3 separate regions of the Homo sapiens genome follow, and regions 1 and 3 are each linked to region 2. Evidence: promoter capture Hi-C in 16 types of primary human blood cells and fetal thymus (Javierre and others, 2016). All regions are on one chromosome and are shown on one strand. Each heading gives the region's core, a stretch centred on a gene start or on the middle of the fragment in contact. The rest is flanking DNA. Distances are from core to core; before and after follow the strand shown. Region 1 has its middle 220 kb from the start of ETV1. Region 2 holds the start of ETV1 (ETS variant transcription factor 1). Region 3 overlaps LOC105375161 (a long non-coding RNA gene).

The links. The method cuts DNA at HindIII sites, captures the fragments that hold promoters and counts their contacts. A CHiCAGO score of 5 or more calls a contact.
Region 1: a fragment that was not itself captured here is called in contact with the fragment with the promoter of ETV1 in region 2 in 1 of 17 cell types (total CD8 T cells); the score reaches 5.3 in total CD8 T cells.
Region 3: a fragment that was not itself captured here is called in contact with the fragment with the promoter of ETV1 in region 2 in 1 of 17 cell types (total CD8 T cells); the score reaches 7.2 in total CD8 T cells.

The regions. Positions count from the first base shown.
Region 1 is chr7:13,768,790-13,772,454 of GRCh38, reverse strand. No RefSeq gene overlaps it. Among named protein-coding and RNA genes, the nearest start is that of ETV1, 220 kb to the left of the region's middle. The HindIII fragment of the contact is 265 bases long and covers 1,907-2,171 here.
Region 2 is chr7:13,988,072-13,991,588 of GRCh38, reverse strand. ETV1 (ETS variant transcription factor 1) reads left to right here and starts at 1,923. Exons shown (of 14, transcript NM_004956.5): 1 at 1,923-2,026; 2 at 2,125-2,321; 3 at 2,450-2,581; 4 at 3,416-3,503. The coding sequence starts at 2,537. RefSeq lists an enhancer at 1-403. The HindIII fragment of the contact is 3,649 bases long and covers 1-3,231 here.
Region 3 is chr7:13,740,955-13,745,035 of GRCh38, reverse strand. All of the region lies in intron 3 of LOC105375161 (a long non-coding RNA gene), which reads right to left. Among named protein-coding and RNA genes, the nearest start is that of ETV1, 250 kb to the left of the region's middle. The HindIII fragment of the contact is 580 bases long and covers 1,484-2,063 here.

The DNA of each region.
Region 1 (3,665 bases), core at 790-3,289, 220 kb after region 2:
GAGCAATCCATGCATAATTCTTAGGAATGAGTAAATTATCTGAGTGTAAATGGCATAAAAGTTTATAAATGAACTTGTCATGGTTTCAAAAATATTTTTCAGTAATTTAAAATCTTAAAGTCATGTTAAATTAAGTAATACTCATTAAATATCTAAGTCATTTCTAAGTAAGTTAAAATACTGAAACATTAATTATTAAGAATAACTTTAAGTTTATATATTTTAACATTTTTTATATGATATAGAGAAGCTAAATATATTTGGGTTTATTAATCAACATAAAACACTGATTAAACATATATTTCTCAAAATTATGTAATAGCTTTCATCTACAAATACTGTTACAAAACAGTTCAAATTGCTTATTTTCTAGGTTCTTCACTGGAAATTAGTTACTAAGAGTTAAAATTGTAATTAATGTATACAATTAAAACTACTAAAAATAAGGGTAACAATTCTCTATGCAAAATATATAATAAAAAAGGAAAAATATGTTTTTGGTGAGAAAGGTTATAAAGGAGATATAAAAGTGTATTTTCTTTTAAAGTAATTTTATCTCAGACATTATTTAAACATTGCTTCAAAATAAACAAATAAAAAATGATATAGATAAAACTGAATGGACATAGAAAGTTTAAAAAAGGAAAAAAAGTTAAAAATATTGTGTGGCTAAACTAAGGATAAATAAATTCATTGTAAGAGTTTTAAAAACTGAGCCTTAATATCAAAAGAAAATTAGGGTGAAAATAAAATTTAGCTTTCTGTTTTAAGCAAGATTTTTGTGTTGTATTAATAAGAGATAATAAAAGATTTTTATTCACCTTTTGAGTAAACTGCAAAAACGGAGAGAGAGAGAGAGAATAAAAGAGAAAGAGAAACAAATATTCTGTGCCTTATTCTGACTTTATTAGGTCTTTTGATTATTTGGAAAACCGAGTCTCCTCTTTATCAAAGAGTAAAAGTTTTTATTTTTTAAGATGTTTTAATTATCACTTTGGTTAAATGACTATTATTTTCGGTGACATGTGATCCTATTTTGGTTAGGTATTTTAAACCCTTAATATATTTGGTAGACTTCCAAAAATCAAATTTTAAAATCAAAATTAAGTCTTTTTGATCTCAAACTAACTTTGAGATGTTCCAGAGGGCCCCGGGAGCATCCAAAAGAGATATATGAAAACCATTTATATGCTATGTTAACTTAAATGGAAAGTATTATCAAATAAGAAATGATACTTAACCTTTTTGGTTTGAGTTATAGTTGTATAGATATGTTATTAATACATGTTCCAAAATTGTATAAGCTCAGGATATGTTATCAGTCATAATTATTTTTATTACATTAAATTACTGTGGGCCATACAAATAACCAAATTTCCTTGCCAAATGCCTTTTTAACCATAACCATTTCAAGTCTTGTTGTCTGTAGTTAATTGTTAATTCCGATGTTTTTTCTGAAAGCTCTTTATAAACAATTACGATCTTAAAGTGTTATGTCTTCAAGGAGGTTCATGGAGAGACTGGAAATGACTCTGACAAGCACAGGTTGCTGATAACCTTAAGTTCATACCACTGGACTCAGTAAGAACTCCCAGAACTCTAATGAGGAAGACTGACTGGCTCATAAAACTGCTAACTCAAGCAGTATAAGAACTAATTAATTACCAAGGAAATACTGTGGCAGATTTTCATGCTAAGTCAGCCAGTACTAAAATTGCTAAGACAGGCAATTTGAGTGAACTTCGTGATCAAGTCAAATTACCTGTGTTAACCCATTTAATAAACAGTGCTATGAACCTGAATTACAGAAACAATGTTGATATTTTAGAGAGTGTAAATCCAGTGTTAAGCATGGACTCATGGAGAGCCTGGACAGCCACCTGGTCCCTTCTGAGTACTTAAAGCTTCCATTATTAAAAACTATGCACTTCATGATGACTCATCATAAAGAGACAAAATGATCCAAATTACATTAAAAAATATGGTGTGGTGACTGTTCTAAAATTGGCAAAATTACTATGACTAACGTTTGGTTACTCAAACCCTTCATTTTGTGAAGACATTCACAAGTTCAGGTACATTTCTGCTGCCTAATGATCTGTTTGAACATTTATAGAGGAATTTTTTTCAATTGTGATTTTCAATCCATGTTTTCTGGTTAGATAGAAGCTTTTCCATGAAAGAAGGCTGATGGTATAACAATAATTAAAACTGTTATTAGAAAATGTGCTTCCCTCATGGGATATTCTTGGAGAAATTTCCAACAACAGAGGTACTTATTTTACTGGACAAGTTGGAAAAGAAACAAGATATTACAGATAGAATAGCATTAGGTAACACTAACTGAATCAACTAGATTGTCTTGGTCAAAGGTACTTCAGATTGATGACAATAAGATCCACTTTCAGTAGAACGTGTAAGTTTTTTTTTTTTTTTTTTTTTTTTTTTTATTATACTTTAAGTTTTAGGGTACATGTGCACATTGTGCAGGTTAGTTACATATGTATACATGTGCCATGCTGGTGCACTGCACCCACTAACTCGTCATCTAGCATTAGGTATATCTCCCGATGCTATCCCTCCCCCCTCCCCCCACCCCACCACAGTCCCCAGAGTGTGATATTCCCCTTCCTGTGTCCATGTGATCTCATTGTTCAATTCCCACCTATGAGTGAGAATATGCGGTGTTTGGTTTTTTGTTCTTGCGATAGTTTACTGAGAATGATGATTTCCAATTTCATCCATGTCCCTACAAAGGACATGAACTCATCATTTTTTATGGCTGCATAGTATTCCATGGTGTATATGTGCCACATTTTCTTAATCCAGTCTATCATTGTTGGACATTTGGGTTGGTTCCAGGTCTTTGCTATCGTGAATAATGCCGCAATAAACATACGTGTGCATGTGTCTTTATAGCAGCATGATTTATAGTCCTTTGGGTATATACCCAGTAATGGGATGGCTGGGTCAAATGGTATTTCCAGTTCTAGATCCCTGAGGAATCGCCACACTGACTTCCACAATGGTTGAACTAGTTTACAGTCCCACCAACAGTGTAAAAGTGTTCCTATTTCTCCACATCCTCTCCAGCACCTGTTGTTTCCTGACTTTTTAATGATTGCCATTCTAACTGGTGTGAGATGGTATCTCATTGTGGTTTTGATTTGCATTTCTCTGATGGCCAGTGATGATGAGCATTTTTTCATGTGTTTTTTGGCTGCATAAATGTCTTCTTTTGAGAAGTGTCTGTTCATGTTCTTCACCCACTTTTTGATGGGGTTGTTTGTTTTTTTCTTGTAAATTTGTTTGAGTTCATTGTAGATTCTGGATATTAGCCCTTTGTCAGATGAGCAGGTTGCGAAAATTTTCTCTCATTTTGTAGGTTGCCTGTTCACTCTGATGGTAGTTTCTTTTGCTGTGCAGAAGCTCTTTAGTTTAATTAGATCCCATTTGTCAATTTTGGCTTTTGTTGCCATTGCTTTTGGTGTTTTAGACATGAAGTCCTTGCCCATGCCTATGTCCTGAATGGTAATGCCTAGGTTTTCTTCTAGGGTTCTTATGGTTTTAGGTCTAACATTTAAGTCTTTAATCCATCTTGAATTGATTTTTGTATAAGGTGTAAGGAAGGGATCCAGTTTCAGCTTTCTACATATGGCTAGCCA
Region 2 (3,517 bases), core at 674-3,173:
CGCCCCCAACCACGTGACCAAGAAGGGCCGGAATTTTGTGAATGGAGACGAAAGGTGGCTGTTGGGGCGGGCGGGACTCCGCCCCCTTCCCTAAAGCGGCCAATCTCCTAGCGGAGCGCTGAGGGGTCAGCAATAAACAACAATGGGCTGGGGATTTACGGCTCGTTATTGGCTGCGGGAAGAACCTCGCCGGGACCTAACCCGAAGCTCCGCCCCCTCGCGGTTACCCTGGATACCCGTCAGGCTCGGGCTGCAGAGAAGGTCTTTGGAAACTGTTGCTCAGATTACAGGCGCTGGGTTATTCCAGGAGTGCAGGGTGGTGGAGGACCCTTGTTATTGACCCCCTGCTTGGTTGCACCCTCAGATAGTACCCATGAGCTTCACTGTTCAGCCTCGGGGCCCAGGCGCTTCCTGGAATCTCTCCTTGGCCGGGGTTAAAATGCAGTTCCCGCTCAAAATGCTTATAGGTGCGCGCGTTGTGAACTCCGATTTAGTAGTTTCCGGGAATGCGCGGGGTCTGTCTTTGCTGTCCATAGTTATTGGTTGTTTTCCCAGTAATAAGTGTTGATTGTTTGTTTGTTTGCTTCTTTTTTAAGTAGATCTTTCTCCTGCCCAGGTCCGGGGTTGAGTGCTGTGCGCTCTTACACTCCATTTTAATGTGTCTCCATAACGTTCTATTTAAGGAAGGAAACTTTCAAATAGAAATTGAGAACTGCAGCACGTTTCCTAACGGGCGGAACAGCTGCCGGAAACGTCTTTTGGTCACTAGTTCTGGTCACAAATGAATTTCAACAGCATTGAGTCCCTGGTCCTATCCCCGCGGCCTCCCGTCCGCTGTTGGACACTGGCTCCTTAAAGTGACGCTTTACTGTTCTGAGTCCCATAGGAGGATCAGGGCAAGTGGCTTCAGAGATGCAGCCCTCACTGCTTAACGTCCTAGTTATTGTCCTTGAAACCCGAGCCATCTCACCGCTCGCCCCCAACCCTGGGCTCTGGCTGTTTAAAAGCTGGAGAGGAAGTGAAAGCGTCAAGTACAGTAAGTGACACCCTCCGCCTCCGTGTATACATAACAAAAGCTCAGGAAACGTGCGGGTTCTAGGATATACGAGCAACCCCAAGCACTCCCTCCTCCTCCCCACAGCCACAGTGGACTGGAAGTACCTTTTCCCAGTGCACACGTAGGGACCATTTTGACTTATACTTTTTCACCTAGCTTGCTCTGTTGTCCTCCCATCACAACCTCTGCTAATCAGCAATTCTGCATCTCCTAGGTGCCTTCCTTATAGATTCTTTATGTTTCTGTCCCACGAACGATAGGATCTAATTTTAGTTGAGGATGACTGTTTAAAAAATGTTTCGATAAACCATAATGGTGATGGTGGGTTTTGAAAAACGGGAAAATAAATTGGGCCAAAAGCTGAGTGGGAATGAGGATAGAGAGCGAGGTGAGCTCCTAGTCAGGGCAAGAGTAGAGAGGTTGGAGATCCTGAGGGGAGGGCAGCTGAATAAGGCGGTACGGGCTTTGTGGATCGCGGCTCTAAGGGTATACCAGAACCGCACAACAGTACTTTAAGGAAACCAGCCCAATAGTGGACCTAACACCCCAATAATGGGAACTGGCGACTCGAAACACACGGTTTCAGTATCCCCAGGCGCCTTAACAATAAGCAGCGGGTTACAGAGGAAATCGAGTCTCTCCGTGGCGCTTCCAGGCTGAGGACCCAGCGCCTACCGGCCGAGCACCCCCTAGGGCAGAGGGGCGAGGGAGACCCGCGGGAAGGGGCAGCAAGCCGCCTGATTGACAGCCCGAAATCTGATCTTGTGAAAGAGACGCGGAGCCAATGGGAGGCAGCGATCCATCAGTTTGGATTGGAGGCCCCTGGAGGAGAAGTAGAGGAAAAACCACCGAATTGAGCTCTGTCAGAGGCGCTTTCGGCTTCCAAGGGGGAAGTGCTGGGCTATAATTAATGTTTTTATTAAATTTGGAGGGAAGTTTTTGCAGCCTTTCGCCTAGCGTGGCCTTCAGGTGGGTCTTTCCAACAACTTTTTATGTCTCTCCAGATAATTGCATGGTTGTGGGTCGCAAAAACTATCCTGATGAAAGAGGTGTCTCCGTCTCTTTAGTCCCGTTAGGTGCAAAGCAAGTCTCGTTGATCGCCATTGCTAGTTTTGCACACGTTTGCGAATCAGAGCTGCCCGGGGTACACCGACCGCGCAGGGAAACATCGAGAGTGTAAATAAATACATCGCCTCTTGTTCGGATTTTTGCTACTACCGAAAATATGTAAATTGTGAACTCTGTTGGCTCTCTTTGGATCCAGGTGAAGGAGGCGGTGTAGGGAGGGTTATTTTTGTGAATGGGACTGTCGGAGGGTAATTAGCTATGCAAATTCAAGAGCTTCATTCATGATTTTTTTTTAAGCCTAAAAGCCATCTTGTTCCCCTCTAGGTTGATAGAAGTCCAGATCCTGAGGAAATCTCCAGCTAAATGCTCAAAATATAAAATACTGAGCTGAGATTTGCGAAGAGCAGCAGCATGGATGGATTTTATGACCAGCAAGTGCCTTACATGGTCACCAATGTGAGTGATCAGTTTGAAAGTTGCTGTTTATAAACTTGACTCCGTCGGGGGTGGGGAGAGGGAGAAAATGAGAAGGGAGGGGGCACGGGGGTTGGGATTGCAGATACTTATCTGCTTTGTTGCCACTGTAGGGCGACTCTGCTTCTAGAAGCCCAGTCTTCAAAATGAGCTTACCTTTCAGTGATTTGGATAAGGCATAGTTTTGTTTTTAAGACCCCTTTTTCTGATTAAAGTGCCCAACATGAGTGGAAGAGGAGATGGAGGGCAGCAGCAGCTGCTGCACTCAAAGTTTTTGGCTGGGTTTGTCTGCCACATTGAAAAGAATGAAGTTGAGACAAATGCTGACACTTTTTGTTTATATGGGGTGTTTTTGTTTCTTTTTTTTTTCTCATTTTCTCTTTTTTTTTTTTTTCATTTCTCTACTCTTTTTGCTTTTTTTTTTTGTGGGGGTGGGGTGGGGAGGAGGGGCTGTCCAAGAGAGAATAAAACCCACTGTTTTAATCTAGCATTGAACCAGCCTAAAAACAACTTTAAGTGTAAATGCTTCAGGTTGTTTTGATGCTGAGATACCATGAATATATGATTGATAAATAGTAATGTGCTAAGATCGGCACTGGGAAGCAACTCTCCCTGCCTGCTTAACATAAGCTTTCACTGTCAAATAAGTGAGAAAATGAATATTAGAGTTGATACTATGGACTTCTATTTTTCTATTCAGAGAAGATCCATTAGACTTATGTATGCATGTCTGTGTGTGTGTGTGTGCGCGCGCGTGTGCGTGTGTGTGATCTGAGGTTTACATTCTTTTAAAGGATTTTATCTTTCCCTTTGTAGAGTCAGCGTGGGAGAAATTGTAACGAGAAACCAACAAATGTCAGGAAAAGAAAATTCATTAACAGAGATCTGGCTCATGATTCAGAAGGTGAGGTTTGATTT
Region 3 (4,081 bases), core at 524-3,023, 250 kb after region 2:
AAATAAGTGCTTAGACTTTCATGATGATGATTTGGAAGGCTGTCACTCATGTGGATGAAAATATTTTGATGTCCACTTTCCCCCTTTTCCCTACTGTGCCAAGTTTTATAATCTCATAGCTAGAGACTGTATGAGGGTACACAGTCTAAGCAAGGGATACTGTACAGTCGTGGTGGGAGAGAGCACAGGCATTGAATCACACCATTTTGATTTGAATCCAGTATCTATTACTTACTAGCTGTGGGATCTTCAGCAAGTTAAGTTACCATCTATAAGCCTTAATTACCTCTTCAAAACAGTGGGATAGTAATAGTGCCCAACAAATATAATCAAATGAAATGACAATTATGAAGCGCATGACCATGTACCTAGCATAGCATAAGCACATGATAAATCTTATTTTACCAAGCTATTTTTTTCTGGAGAAATGCAACTTCAACTCTCATAAGGACTTTGTAACAGAACTGTATACGTATCTTTCCCCCAGTTTAAGATATAAACTTATGGCTGATCTAAACATTCACACACAGACACACAGACACACACACACGTCGTTTCTCTGTGTCTGCCTCTATAGCGCTCTCATTCTCTTTCCTGTATACATACATGCACACATACACACATATACATATATAAGTGAATATAGTGTGTATTCTACATACATACACGTTTTTGACTATCAGATAAATATCTATGACTTCACAAAATTTGGATTTATGAGGTTGTTAAAAGGAACCACAGGACAACATTGGAGTAAGGAGAGAAAAGAAAGACATTAGTGTGAAATCAATGTCACAAATCACAACACTGGAGTGCAGTCAAGAAAGTTGTGTATGAAACTTGTTAATCCGTCTTCTCCCTGGAAAGCTTTACTTTTTCTGAGAGAACTTAATATCACCTAGGAATTATTATATTTTTCCGCAGTCTCCCCTGTTAACTAATTCCCTTGTTGCACACATAGAGGTACAACAGTTTAATAAAACAAAGAGTGACTTGACATTGCCAGCACAGGGTTGTTTGTGTTCACCTGTGACATTTACAAGTGAAGACATACAGAACCTTCTTTTGTTTCCTGGATAATCGTTCAGGTGTTAAAGAAGTTGATTCAGTTTTAAATGGCATGATTTTCTCAAGCCTTGGAAAAATAATTGATGGATTTTCTTCTTTTTTCATAGCTCAAGTATACAAACTGCAAAGTCATGTCTAACTGTTTAATTTTACAAGACTGGAAAATATTGAATTTAAAGCTTAGGCTTTAGTTTAGGTTTATTCCTGGTGTTCAACACTGTCTAAACTTTCACAGGCAAATCGGAAATGAAACACAATTGAAAGTAAACCATGCTTTTTCTGCCTGAAAGGGGCCTTAATATTTCATTTTATGTTTTCAAATGGAATCTAATGAGAACGTGATTTTATACAGATACCTTGTGTCAATTATTCCTTGTATTCCTTCTAAAGCGATCTGTGCATTCAACTTGAAGCTTCATTAAGGATCAAGCCAAGTAGTCTTTAAAAAGTACAGGGTTTTGGTGATAGACAGATGGTGGCTTTCATGATGTCAGGAAGTGTCAGATATTATCGTTGGCTGCGGGATGGTGGCTACTATCCAAACAGATTGGGAAACAGACAGAAAGAGCAAGAACACCATTTGTTTTATTTAGATACATTGTGAACAGAAGGAAGCAAGACAGAGCATACTTTTACACATCTTTTTTCCACTCCTTGTGAAAACAGTTTAGGATTTGTTATGTTATATTAGCCCTTTCATTATGCAAAAACATGTGAAAGCCAGAGACACTGGTAAAAGAATTTGTCTCATTGTGATTTTCTATGAAGTTTGTTTATTTTTATTCTTACAGAACATGGTTTTTTAAAAAATTTCCTTTCATTGGCAATATTGAGTGCTAGAAACAGAGGGAGCTGAGATGTTGCCCTTTAGAAGTGCTATACTGTTAAGAGAGTATGAAGTGAGTATTGACTTCATGATCCAGAATGAGGGCTTCTCAGAGAACCTTATCAAAGATTCAGTTCCAAAACTGAACTTGCTTGTTTGTGATGAAGCTTAGTTATTTCTGTAAGGATTTAATTCACATTGGCAGCCAGAGGGCAGCATCAGCTCCAGACAAATATGCTGGTCCAGTTACATGAGCAAAGCTGAGTATTTACTCAGCAGTAGACGTAGGCATCAGGGCACTGTAGCATATTGGTGGGGGCCTTCCTAATCTTCATTTAAAAGAAAGTGAAAATTTGCTAGCATATTCAATAGATAAAACACCTTCAAACTTTGCTTTCTGAGAGTTACTTATATTTACCTGTTACCATAATCTTCTACTTTATCCCATAAGAGGTAACCAAATTTTTGACATTTTGATGTATCAGAGATCTGGTGCCACAATCTGCTGTACAATTGTGTCCCCAAACCAGAGTGAATATATTGGAAATGTGGTTCCTAATGCAGCTCCCATATATTTGAATGTGAGGGGCCAAACTAAATAAGGAAGAACACGTTGCTCATAAAAACCAGTAGTATGGTGTTATATAGAATGCAAATATTTAGGACCCGGAAGGACTTTGGAAGAACATTTTAGATTAGTGGTTTTCACCCAGTGCTTCAGAAAGTTCCAAAGTTTCATGCAGGCCCTTTATGGGCTGTGCTAGAGGGTGAGTAAAAGGTCAAGACTCCACTCCACTATCTCGGCTTCATCTCAACAGCTGTGTCAGTGATGTGGCTTTCCAGCCTAGGGACAAACAAGGATTGGAATCTTGGCTTAAGAGATGAGCATTCCTGTAGTAGAAAAGTGTAAAGCATTTGGCTGGGGCTGAGTTGGCATGACTGTATTTTAATTGCTCCCTAAGTTCAAACAGGAGTCAAATTCCAGAATGAGGTTTGGGATAACTATGTTACAAGGTAGAATAACCTTCCTCTCACCTCCTTCCACACCCCACTGATATTTGAGGCCTGAACATGATCAATATACCCAGAGGCTTTAAAGAGAAAGGAGAGCCTGAAAAAAAGTAATCTTAGCCCCTTCCTAGGACCCCCTAAAATTGCACAAGGCTGTACTTCAGTCAATGCTGTCTAAAGCACTACAGGCACCTCTTTTGTAAATGAGCTACTCCACAGCAGCATAAGAAATATTGTGAATTATTTACTGGGGGAGTCTTGAAATCACAATATACATACTGAATAATAACTAATAGTTTAATCATGTGTTCATTAAAAGGCAAAACAAAACTCTCACTTTCCTTTGGTTTTTGAGACAAGCCCATATATAAAGGGGAGAACATCCTGAGACACCTGGTGGAAAGCTGGTCTCTGGATTGTGGGAGGGACTGAAGTAGACTGAAAAGAAGGGTAGCATACACCCTTCATGCTAAGGGCATCCTGATTCAAGAGTCAGTCAGTGAATCTCAAAGAATTTCTACAAAGTTTTGGTTTATGCAGTAAATTTTATTGCTTTACATGAAATTAATCCTTGTTCTATCTTGGAAAGAATCTGAAGCATTTGACAGGTTAAAATTATGTTTCTCCAGAGCATGAATTTAATATCAGCCCTGGTTAGAAGTCATGAACTGTTGCAAGAACTCTTGTAAAGAGAAGTGTAATGTTAGAATATATGCTGAAGCCAATAATTTATATCATGGAATTAAAATATCTGGGAGTCATCTTAAATCTCACTTGGACTTTCAGCAGTAGTACACATTGAATCTATATTTTGGTGGGCTATCAGAAGAGGAAATATTTGATACATAATTTATTGCTCAAATGTTATTATTAGGTTTCAAACAGCTAAATGGAGAATTGTGTGTAAATTAAGATGTCATTGCATTAACAGTTCAACTTCTTATTTAAAAACGATGTTGGGGCTTGTTTCAGTGTACTTTTCTATGAAGTTTATTTTTAATTTTACAGAATGTAATTTATTTAAAAATTTCCTCTCATTGAAAAATATTGAAAGCTTCGAACAGAGAACTAATTTTAAGCTCTGCAAAATATTATTTCCTCCTAATTTTAGGAACAGGAAAAAAAAACCGCCTTACTTTACAAAAATAGACAAAAATTACTTGCCTAAGCTGCTTG